Linked DNA regions of Homo sapiens: region 2 is linked to region 1. The links are contacts of gene promoters, found by promoter capture Hi-C in blood cells and fetal thymus (Javierre and others, 2016). All regions are on one chromosome and are shown on one strand. Each heading gives the region's core, a stretch centred on a gene start or on the middle of the fragment in contact. The rest is flanking DNA. Distances are from core to core; before and after follow the strand shown. Region 1 holds the start of C1orf35 (chromosome 1 open reading frame 35). Region 2 holds the start of SDE2 (spliceosome associated SDE2).

Region 1 (5,911 bases), core at 1,333-3,832:
GTGCTTATAACTGAGGAGCCTGGGCAGTGTCCCCACCTTGCAGGCCCATCCCTTGCCCCTTAAGCTTGTTCCTGGCCCTCTGCTCATCCCGCTGGCCTTCAGCTCTGCTGAGAAGAGCCTGCAAGGGATGTCCTCTGGCCCTGCCCCTGTCCTTGTGACCGAGCAGTGCCTGACCTCACGTGGATGGGCTGTGTGGCTGCCTGGGACTCTGCCTTGCAGGGTTACTTCCTGAGCAGCCTCCCTGGAGCCCCCGTCTCTGAAGTTGTGGCTCAATCCCTGTGGCATATAGAGCCAGCTGCCCGGCCACTCTGTGCACTCACTTGGCCCCCCCCCTCCACTACCCAGCCTCCTCCCACTATAGTGGGTTCCCCTGGGATCTCCACTGCCCCTCCACTCCCTGACCGCCACCCTCCTGGGTCCAGCTTCGCTGCTGTCACAGAGGACACCACTGTGACCAGTGCCCCCAGCTGGGCCTCCACCCAGCAGGCACAGGCCATGCAACCTCCACCCTGGTGACCCCTCCTCCTGTGGCCTACGGCTTGTCAGGCTAATGGGCTCAAAACTGACCAGGTCTTCCCCACAAACCTGGTCCTCATGTTGACAGGTGGCTGCTTCATCCTCACAGTTGCCCAGACCAGAGCCTCAGAGCCGTCCTGGACTCCTGCCCAATGTCCACCTGGCCCTGCTATCCCCTCTCCACCACACCTGACATCCAGTCAGTGGTCAGACTCCACAGCTGGGCCCTGCCCACATGGCCCAAGTCCACCCTGGCCTGGCAAGCTGCAATGGCACCCAGGAGATGATGCCCTACACCCCAGGGAGCCTTCCTGGGAGTCGGCCAGTCACCTTCTGTGTGCCTGGCTGTGGCCTGCTGCTCTGCCCTCGCCATGCACCTGCTCCATGATGAAAGCTCATGCAGTGCCTCATGAGGGAGATGGCAGCCAGTACTTGCTAAGTAGATAGATGAGCCAGACGTGTGGCTGTCTGCCAGCCTGCTCTAACAGCCTGACCCATGGACTGGGTCACTAAGAAACAGAAATTTCCCACAGGACAGTAGACCTGTATTTCATCCAGTTCAACCTGTGGCTGGAATTGCCCCAAAAGTGGTGGCAGTAGAGTTCCCACAAGGGAGTGCCCCACACCATCCTGAGATGGGGCTGGTTAGGATTCTACAGATTGAGCATGCCAGGGTGATTCGCCCAGAGCATTTATTCGTGGGGCTTTTGTACAGAGTGGGCTGCAGCAGTTCTTGCAATAGGCAGTGAGAGAAATGAAGTTCTCTCTAGGTATGTCCGTGGGGGAGGGGGTTGGTGAATGGAATTTATATGAGGGTTTGAGGAATCTGGCTCAGGCTGAGTCCAGTTTCTTTCTGTGTTTTGAGCAACAACCTAGTTACTGTCATCTGTGCCTGGGAACGTTCATGGCTATGGCTCGGGTTCAAGTCTGCAGAGGAAATTATACAGTTGGCGAAGTCACAGAGTGGCCAAGGGACTCTGTTTCTCAGTCAGCACTGGGAATGAAAGTGGAAAGGGGAAGCAGGGGTACGTCACAACCTCCAAAATCAGGGTGCCCAGCACGCTGAGGTTCTGGTAAGGGGTTTCTTCCAGACTGCAGACTTCCTTCCCGCTGCCTTCACACAGTAGAAAGCTGCACAAAGCTCTTGGGGTCCCTTTTATGAAGGCTCTGTCCTCATGACCTAGTCACCTCCGAAGCACCAACGCCTTGGGGTGAGGATTTCACATGGGAGTTAGGGTGCACATTCAGTTTAACACGGCAGGGATAGGACCAGTGCTCTGAGGGTGTCTGGGTAGCTGCTGGTTCATCCAGAAGTTTACTGGGTAATACTCAGAAATTCCACAAATCATTAAGGTCATTACCTTGTTAAGCTCCCGATATGGAATCGCGACTAGCAGTGACCAATTGGCGGTGTTAACTAGGCGCATCTTGTGTGTTTTCTTTTTTCTTTTTTTATGAGACAGGGTCCGCTCACTCGTTCAGGTTGGAGTGCAGTGGCGCGAAGTCCTGGGTTCGAGATCCTCCCGCCTCAGCCTCAAAGCGTTGGGGCTACAGGGGCGCGCGCGCGCCTGGCCCATTTTAACTTCTTATTTTTGAGACAGTCTCGCTCTGTCGCCCAGGCGGGAGTGCAGTGGCGCGATCTCGGCTCACTGCAACCTCTGCCTCCCGGCTCAAGTGATTCTCCTGCTTCAGCCTCCTGAGTAGCTGGAATTACAGGTGTGCACCACCACACCCGGCTAATTTTTGTATTTGAGTAGAGACCGGGTTTCACCATGTTGGACAGGCTAGTCTCGAACTCCCGACCTCAAGCGATCCGCCCGCCTCGGCCTCCCAACTTGCTGGGATTACAGGCGAGAGCCACTCCGCCCGGCCCCGTTTTAACCATTTTTAAACTTCCAGTTCAGAGGCGTTCCCGCGCCCGGCAGGGTAGGCGCAGTGCGCAGGCGCCCAAAGCCGACGTGGAGGTGATGCGCGGGAGCACAGATCCGGGGCAGTGCGCTGCGCAGAGGCGCGCGGCGAAGCCGAGTGGGCGCGGGAGTGACGTCACGGCGCGCGACGCGGAGGCGGGGTCGGGCCTGGGTCCGACGGTAGTGGGTAGCGGGTCTCGGGTTGCGGGTTGCAGGTTGCAAGCCGCAGGCCCCAGGCAACTGCCTTCCCGGCGCCATGTTCGGCTCCAGTCGTGGAGGCGTGCGCGGCGGGCAGGACCAGTTCAACTGGGAGGACGTGAAGACTGACAAGCAGCGGGAGAACTACCTGGGTGGGTGCGCGCGGTGGGCGGGCTCCGGGCTCCGGGCTCCGGGATCCCGGGCGGGCGCTGGACTCACAGCGTCTACGTCCGCAGGCAACTCGCTGATGGCGCCGGTAGGCCGCTGGCAGAAGGGCCGCGACCTCACCTGGTACGCCAAGGGCCGGGCGCCATGCGCGGGCCCGAGCCGCGAGGAGGAACTGGCAGCCGTGCGGGAGGCGGAGCGCGAGGCGCTGCTGGCCGCCCTGTGAGTGTCCGCGGACGGCAGCGGTCGGTGCCTGGGACGGCGCTGCCGGGGCAGGGTGGGGCCGGGGCCGGGGACTGGGGGTCGGGCTGGGCGGGAGCGGGGCTGCGGGGACTCGCGCGGGCGGGACCCTGAGGACGAAGGCTGGAGTGGTGAGGACCTGTGGTGGGAGGAGGTCCGTCCGTCCTGACGCCTGCCCCGGCCCTCTCGCAGTGGCTACAAGAACGTGAAGAAGCAGCCCACGGGCCTGAGCAAGGAGGTAACTCCCCGGGGTGGGGGGCGCGTGGAGGGCCGTGGGTGTGGGGCCGACTCGAGCGCTCCCTGTGCTCTCGCACCTGCAGGACTTCGCGGAGGTCTGCAAGCGGGAAGGAGGCGACCCCGAGGAGAAGGGCGTGGACCGGCTGCTGGGGCTGGGGAGCGCAAGGTGCGGGCGGGTTTCCAGGGGAGGGCAGCACTGGGCTCGATTGCTCGGGTGAGGCGGACCCCTGCCGTACTGTCTTCATCGCCATGTCCCTGCAGTGGCTCCGTGGGCCGCGTGGCGATGTCCCGAGAGGACAAGGAGGCCGCCAAACTGGGGCTGTCTGTGTTCACGGTAATCCCCCGCCCCGCCTGACCGCAGCAGGGGCTAACAGGGGTGGGGCGGGGCGGGGGCACTGAACGGAGCTCCCCGGGGCGCTGCGGGGCGTGGTGTGGGGCCGGCCCGCAGACTCCTCCGCAGAGCTCGCTTCTCCCGCAGCATCACCGCGTAGAGAGCGGCGGGCCCGGGACCTCGGCAGCCTCGGCCAGGAGGAAGCCGCGGGCGGAGGATCAGACGGAAAGCAGGTGAGGCTGTGCCACCTGGGCTAGCTGTGCCCCGGGGTGGGGGGTCTCGGGAGGACCGGAGCGGCTCCCACTCGGGCAGGTGGCAGCTTCTCTTGGCGCACCGGCCCGGCGGGTGGCCTGCCCTACTTTACTTCCTGTCCCAGTTACTCCTAGGTTTTTCTCTAGGGGAGTTTCTCGGGTCACCCTTGAAGAGAGGTCCTAAGTACTGGCAGTGGTCGGGCGCTGTGCCGTGGGAGGGCACTCAGGACCTGGGGCGGGGCCTTTTCCTGCCGTGGGTGGCACCTCCAGGGCTTCTCCTGGATGGTGAGCCTGGGCCTGACCCTAAGAGTGGCCTGGTGGGTGCAGGTAGGAAGGTGTCAACCTGCCAAGGGCACGGCTGGGGTGGGGCAGGGGCGTGCTGTGGAGATGGGGATATTGCATCTGTTTCTAACCCACGTAGCCACTGGCCACGTGACTACGTAACTGAGGAGTGGAATTTGTAGTTTGATTTAACTGATTTAAAGACGCACTTGTGGGTGGTGGCTTCATCTGGATGGGGCCTGCTTGTGTTCACTCTCTTGGCTTGCAAGACTAGGGTCTGAGGCACACCTTGTATCCTCCTTGTAGTTGTGAGAGCCACAGGAAAAGCAAGAAGGAGAAGAAGAAAAAGAAAAAGAGGAAACACAAGAAAGAGAAGAAGAAGAAAGACAAAGAGCACAGGCGGCCAGCTGAGGCCACCTCCTCTCCCACATCTCCTGAGAGGTATGCCCTGGTCCATATCTGCCTCTTGGGGGTGGGGGCCTGGTTGACTCCTTCCGAGTGACTGACTGCCATTGGTCTCCCCAGGCCCAGGCACCACCACCATGACTCCGACTCCAACTCCCCCTGCTGTAAGAGGAGGAAGCGGGGACACAGTGGGGACAGGAGGAGCCCGTCTCGCAGGTGGCATGACAGAGGCTCTGAGGCCTGATGGCTGGACCCTGCTCACTGCTGTTGTGGGACCCTGAACCCTCCCTTCACCTTGCTTGCCTCCTGCCTCGGAAGCTCCTTGGGTGTGGGTGAAGCCCGAGGCTGCTCCTGTGGAAGTGGCTCTGGGCACCAGCCTGTGGGGCTAAAGACTTGACAGCTAGCTCTGGAGCAGCCGGCTTCCTGGAAAACCTCCAGGTTTCGCATACCAGGGATGGCCCCTGGCTTGGCCTGCGAAGGTGAACCTGCCCAGATTTATCAGTAGAGGCTGGACTCCCTCTGTGTCCTGCCCATGGTTGCAGCAGCCATGGGCCTATGAGCGGTCTAACTGTGGCCAAGTATGGTGACCTCTATTTTTCTTTATATTGACTCTTTGTATTTCAATAAATATATTTTAAAAGGAAGGTATATCAAATTGGAAGGTCAGTATCAGGGGTTAATGAGATCCCACTGGAACGTCGGAGCTGGGGTCTGTCTCCCAGGAGTCTGAGACCTGGTGATTTTTTTTTTTTTTGAGTTTCACTTTTGTTGCCCAGGCCGGAGTGCAATGGTGTGATCTCAGTTCACTGCAACCTCCGCCTCGCGGGTTCAAGCGATTTTCCTGTCTCAACCTGAGTTGCTGGGATTACAGGCGCTGCCACTACGCCAGGCTAATTTTTGTTATTTCTTAGTAGAGACGAGGTCTCACCGTGTTGGCCAGGCTGGTCTTGAACTCCTGACCTCAGGTGATTCGCCCGCCTTGGCCTCCCAAAGTGCTGGGATTACAGGTGTGAGCCCCGGTGCCCATCTGATTCTTAATGTCCTGGGGGAATGTAGTCCTCCCATGTGTGCCCAGAGCCCCCACCAAAACCCAGGGAGGGCTGAGGCCCTGGAAGCAGGTGCTCAGCTGGCAATGTGGGAACCTGGGGCAGGGAGCCCTATCCCTGCGACAGGTGAGGTCAAAGACTGCAGTCTGTGGAGGCACAGCCTCAATTGGGTGTGGGGGTTGGGGAGCTCCTCCAACTGCCTGCTACCCCAACCCTCAGCTCCGCTTCTCCAGAGGCAGTGGGCTGGGTGTCCCTTCTGCCTGACCCTAAGAAGGATCAGGGCTGTTCAGGATGTGTGCGGCCACCAGGCTGCATGGCATAAAGACAGATGGC
Region 2 (5,911 bases), core at 2,094-4,593, 2.1 Mb after region 1:
GTATTAGCAACCACCTTTCCTCTCTGCGCACAAACATGGCTGAAAACACAGAAGTGCGACTTGCATGTCACACATGGATATCGATTCACTAGTTTAGGAGCGTGGCTGCTGTTTATGGAAATTGCCAGCATACAGTTCTGCTTCCTGTTCTTGCAGACCAGCATGACATTTGGCTCGATTGAGCCCCTGTCATGGGTTGCCACACAAACATTGTCTGTCTGGTGCTGTCATTTCCTGGCAGTGAACAATTATTCCACATTGCCTCAAGATGCCCTCCCAGTGTCCCTCTCACGGCAGCAGAACCAGTCCTCAAAAGGCAAATGTGTGGCCAGAGCATTCTTCTGGAGAACATAGGCAGGAACAAAGCCAGTGTGGTTTACTGGAAAGCACACCAAATATAGTCTGAGGAGCATGGCCACACTATGTAGACAATAGAGGAACTGGCCCCCCTCCCACTCACCATTTAGTTGTCACAACCACACACGTGCCTTCCTGTGCCTTCCCTGACGTCATGAGGTGGGAAAGGTAGCAGCAGTTGGCTCTTTTCCATAATCACTGATCAGCCCCGCCACATAGCACTGTCAACTGGAAGCTACCACACACCCATAGTAACCCAGCTAATAGCTGTCTTTCTAGATTTTTTTTTTTTCACTGATGTGCACTGTGTTCTTGGCCATAGCCCTAACTTTACATGCTTCAATTTCCTCATTCTTTAAAGGAATTTAATAGCAATCCAAGTTAAATTCTGCATCCTTACAATAGATTGTTATATTAGTGCAAAATATATTTCATCATATGTACATTGAGAATAATTAACTTCTACCTTAGTAATCCATCAAGTATCCAACTAATATTTACTTAATATCTACTCTGTACATGTCATGGTACTACACGCTCATTTTGAAGTTTTAACAACAAATTATATATTACTTGGAAATTTGTGTCTTTCAAAAGCTAATATCAATGGTTATTTCATATTTTAAATGACAAATACCTATTCAATACTTGGGATTCTTTAAATAATAGGAATTTAAATGCAACAGAGGGATAAAAAGCGAAAAATTCCATTCAGACATCAGGTTTTATGAGGACTAAATATAATGTTAGTAATAAATGATGTGGAGTTTCCTTACTGGAAAGTACTACTTATGCCAGGCACGGCAGGTCACGCCTGTAATCCCAGCACTTTGGGAGGCTGAGGCGGGAGGATCTTTTGAGCCCAAGAGTTCAAGACCAGCCTGGGCAACTTAGCGAAAAACTCGTCTTTACAAAAAATTTAAAAATTAGCCAGGTGTGGTGGCATGCACCTGTAATCCATCTGGAGTCTGTGGCAGATCACTTGAGCCCAGGAGTTCAAGGCTGCGTGTGCTATGATTGCGCCACTACACTCCAGCCCAGGTGGCAGAGCGAGTGTCTCAAAAAAGAAAGAAAGAAAGAAAAAAAAGACTAATCATAATAATTCCTCACAAGACACGAAGCATTATCCCGACACAAAAAATGTTTTGGAAACCCAAACTGACCTTTATACAGTTACTTGTAGGATCTCAGACCTTTGAAATGGTCATTTAAAAAAATTATTTATTTATTTGAAATAGTCATTTTTGATCACCAGAAGGAAGAAATCACAAATAAAAAAAGAAGAGGCTTAAGGCTCAGATCTGTAGATTACTTTTTCAGGAACCTGGAGGACAGAGAGCTGGGGAGCAGACTGCAGAGGGACTTGAGGTTTCTGGAGTTTGGACGGCTTACATGTAACCTGGCGACACCTTCACGCCCCAGGGTTGCCATGGCACCACCTTTCCGAAATACTGCTTCCTAGGTACAATATATCTTTTTTTTCTGAAACGGAGACTCTCTCTGTCGCCCAGGCTGGAGTGCGATGGCACGATCTCAGCTCACTGCAACCTCTGCCTCCCGGGTTCAAGCGATTCTCCTGCCTCAGCCTCCTGAATAGCTGGGATTACAGACGCGCACCACCACGCCCGGCTAATTATTGTATTTTTAGTAGAGATGGGGTTTCACCATGTTGGTGAGGCTGGTTTCGAACTCCTGACCTCGAGATCCGCCCGCCTCAGTCTCCCAAAGTGCTGGATTACAGGCATGAGCCACCGCGCCCGGCCAGTACAATCTATCTTTATTATTTTTTTTTTTGTAATTTTTATTTATCTACTGGCATCCCCATGGAGGCCCTTTCTCTCCCCAACTTTCCCTCGTGTGTGAAATAAAGACCACTGAATCTATTAACTTCCCAGGCCTTGAAATTCCATTTTCGCACATACTGCCACCGCTAAACGATTTCTGAATTTTTTGTTGTTACCCCCTCAGCTAGGAGTTCCATTTGCCAAGCATTTTAACAGCAGAGAAGGCAATTCTGTGGGCCGATGCATTTGTGTTTAGCAGGCACAGATATCTCCAAATAACCTTCCTATCTTCACACTGGTGGCTTTTGAATTGTTCAGGGTTTTAGAAATACCATAATCTCATTCTGTTAAATATTAAGGGACTCTTTCGGATTCCCTGAGCCTTAAGGTTACGTTATGCAAATCTGTCCGAGTGTGTTTCCATGGTGCAGAATAAAAGTTATGGTAGGGTTTTTTGAAGCAGCATGACTATAAACGTCACTCCTGTCACTGCCTTTCACAAGAGCCCACTTGCTGTGAAATATTTTGAAAACAGAGCTGAAGTGGAGATAACGCAGTGCACAAACAGGCGGAAATAAGAATAAACCGTGCGTGGCAGGCAGAAACCCGGAGGTTGGCTGTTTCTGGAGGGGAAGAGAAGGCTCTGTAAAGCTGGAGGAGAAACCACGCCGGCCACTGTTTAGGGGCCTCCTGGGGGTCGTTTCCCTTGCCCCCTCGGGTTGGGGAGCTCCTCTAGGCCAAGGAAGCGGCCCCCTAAAACCGCTTCCGGGACTGCAGCTTCTCTCCCCACACTCTCAAGGAGCAGAGCCTTCTCGGGCCACAATTCTCCGCGACCCAAAAATAACTACACAGATGTGAGGAAAAGGGCCAAAGCCTACAGCACAAGGTGGTTCTCAGTTAAAGCCTTATCGCTTACGGCCAGGAAGCTCGAAACCTAACCCAGCGCCAGCCTTTTATAGCCGGTCCCTCGAGCCCCGCCCTAGCAACTTCTCCTAGCAACGCCTCGCCCCGTGCTCTGCCGCCTTATCTGCCTCCGCCAGGCCTTTCCTGTTCCCCTCCCCCAGCCCGCACCGCCCCGCCGCCCGGCTCACTTGACCCGCCCCAGGGGAGGGGAGGGGTGAACGGAAGCGTGAGGGGCGGGGCGTTGGAAGATGCTCGCGTCATCAAGAGGCGCCGGGCGAGTTGCGGCGCCTGGTGTCTCAGAGAGGCTTGAGGTTCGGGTAGTCGGTGACATGGCGGAGGCCGCGGCGCTGGTGTGGATTCGCGGCCCTGGCTTCGGGTGCAAGGCGGTGCGGTGTGCCTCGGGTCGGTGCACCGTCCGGGATTTTATCCACCGGCACTGCCAAGATCAGGTGAGGATTTCGGTTCCTGTTAGGAAGGAGAAAGAGGCAGACAGGTGGCAGCGCTGGGTGCGGAGTAGGTCTGTCCGGGGCGGGGGTACGTTTATTCTCTGGGGTTTTCACTCGTTGAGGCTGAGAGTTCCTCAGTGTTAAGGTGCTTCGAATTGTTACTGAGACCTTCCTTTGCTTTTCTTTTGTGGTGGTGGTTTTGCCTTCCCACCAAGAGGGAGAAAAAAACTGTTACAGGCACTTAGTCCCGCTCACAGTTACAAATACTTTGTTTCTCTTTCTTTATCCGTAAATATAATGGTCTTCTGGCAGTTGGGCCGGCTGATTTTTAAGGCTCCAGTCTTCACCTTCTTACTATGGTTATGTGACGTGTATTTTGTCCACTCATCACACAGCCTTGTTAGCCCCAGCCTAGAGAAGTATGTCATATCCAAACCCAGGCCAAAGGATGATTGGGAAGGAAAATTGATTCTTCTGGTCAGTCGTTGTGACCAAGCATTCACACGTGTGTCCTGTTGAGGGCCTGGGTTCTTAGGGCCTGTTACGTAGAAGTGTTCACTATTAATTTGATGGTCTCATTTGTCCGTGCATATTTGTGAAAACCTACCAGGGACTTCCAGAGTTACACGTGAGCTTTTACTGAACTTTCAAGTAAGTAAGCTTTTACCAGCTATAAGATATTAAACCTGTTCAGTTGTCAAAAGAATTTAGTGGTTTCCCTGAATCTAATTTTAATGTTGGCACTTGATCTAGAACTCTGTTCTTTCCGCACCTCATCCGTGCTTTCCTCGGCTATTTCCTCTGCTTACTATTTATAAGCTTAACAAATGTTAACACTGCAGTCTAGACCAAAATTTTAAGAGACTTGGATCGATTCCGTGAAGAAGCAATGTGTGTTTGCAAATAATACGGTTTTTCACTTTCCATGTTTTCCTTCCTGCTCTGTAATCCAGTCTAAAAACTGTAAGCACAACTGTTTTTGACCATGAAAATAATTGCATTCTAATTCCTTTGAAAATAATTCTTATTTCATGAGTACAGTGTTCTTTTCTCCCCCTCCCCCACCCCCGACGGAGTTTGACTCCCGTTGCCCGGGCTGGAGTGCAATGGCGTGATCTCGGCCCACTGCAACCTCCGCCTCGCTGAGTTCAAGCGGTTCTCCTGCCTCAGCCTCCCAAATAGCTGGGATTGCAGTCGCCCGCCACCATGCCTGGCTAATTTTTGTATTTTTAGTAGAGACGGGGTTTCACCACGTTGGCCAGGTCTTGAACTCCTGACCTCGGGTGATCCGCCCACCTCAGCCTCACAAAGTGCTGGGATTACAGGCTTGAGCCACTCCTCCCGGCCTATGAGTACAGTTTTCAAACTTGCTGACAATTGATCCAAAGTGAAACCAGAAAAAATAGGATCTTAATCATGAGGTATGTTGGAAAAAAGAATTTTTAAATCGGAAGCAAGAAATATAGGCCAGGCGTGGTGGCTCACGCCTGTAATTCCAACACTTAGGGAGGTCGAGGCGGGCAGATCACCTGAGGTCAGAAGTTCGAGACCAGCTTGGCAACATGGTGAAACCCCATCTCTCCTAAAAATACACAAAAATTAGCCAGGCGTGGCGGCAGACGCCTGTAATCCCAGCTACCCAGGAGGCTGAAGCAGAAGAATCATTTGAACCTGAGAGGTGGAGGTTGCAGTGAGCCGAGATTGAGCCATTGCACTCCAAACTGGGTGACAGAGCAAGACTCGGTCTGAAAAAGTATATATAAAGAAATATAAATGAGTGGATTCAGTCAGAAACTTAAGGAACATGACCATAGCAAATATGAATAGAAACACAAAAGAATATTAGTTGAGATACTGGAACAAGTAAGAATAGCTCAAGTTCACACCTATGTTTTTAAAAACAAAACTATTCTGAGACATGATGAAGTTAGTGTTAACTCCCACTGAGAAAATAAAAATCTGCCCTGCTTTTCATCAGGCTGGGATAACAGACACAGATAAAGCCAGCTGCAAAGTTTTTGTTTTTTGTTTTTGTTTCCCCCACACTACACCGATGTACAGCTGCAGAGTTAACAGGAAATGGTGATGTGTCATAATGTCATAACGACCCCCACGAAGGTCTGCTGCTTTCTTATTCACTGAGAAACCTTGGTCTCAAAAACCATAGAATATATAAGAAATTTTGCTGTTTAAAGTTCTCTCAATAAGAGGGAACCTTCCCACTCTTGCCTTGTAGAGAAGCATTCTTGATTTCCAACCCAGGTCAGAGCTTCCCATTAAGGGTTTCTGGACACAACTTTCCACATTTATCTTAAATTTGTAGTTTCCAAGGAAAGAGGAGCCTTCACAATCCAGATCTGATGTTGACGTTTTTATATACAGTCCTGCTTTATTTTGAACCTTTTTAAACACTGCTTGATG

Evidence for each region. Contacts are between HindIII fragments. The CHiCAGO score rates a contact against its expected background, and 5 or more counts as called.
Region 2: the fragment with the promoter of SDE2 here is called in contact with the fragment with the promoter of C1orf35 in region 1 in 1 of 17 cell types (neutrophils); the score reaches 6.7 in neutrophils.

Annotation. Positions count from the first base shown.
Region 1 is chr1:228,099,996-228,105,906 of GRCh38, reverse strand. C1orf35 (chromosome 1 open reading frame 35) reads left to right here and starts at 2,582. Exons shown (of 8, transcript NM_024319.4): 1 at 2,582-2,773; 2 at 2,858-3,008; 3 at 3,219-3,264; 4 at 3,347-3,429; 5 at 3,525-3,597; 6 at 3,742-3,827; 7 at 4,434-4,568; 8 at 4,653-5,176. The coding sequence starts at 2,680. The coding sequence ends at 4,776. RefSeq lists enhancers at 1,655-2,374, 2,375-3,095, 3,096-3,815, 3,816-4,536, 5,647-5,886 and silencers at 2,818-3,087, 3,248-3,417, 3,668-3,747. The HindIII fragment of the contact is 8,620 bases long and covers 67-5,911 here.
Region 2 is chr1:225,996,775-226,002,685 of GRCh38, reverse strand. SDE2 (spliceosome associated SDE2) reads left to right here and starts at 3,343. Exons shown (of 7, transcript NM_152608.4): 1 at 3,343-3,493. The coding sequence starts at 3,374. RefSeq lists enhancers at 2,459-2,508, 2,589-2,688, 2,709-2,858, 3,379-3,488, 5,502-5,591 and 1 more and a silencer at 3,039-3,318. The HindIII fragment of the contact is 16,010 bases long and covers 1-4,152 here.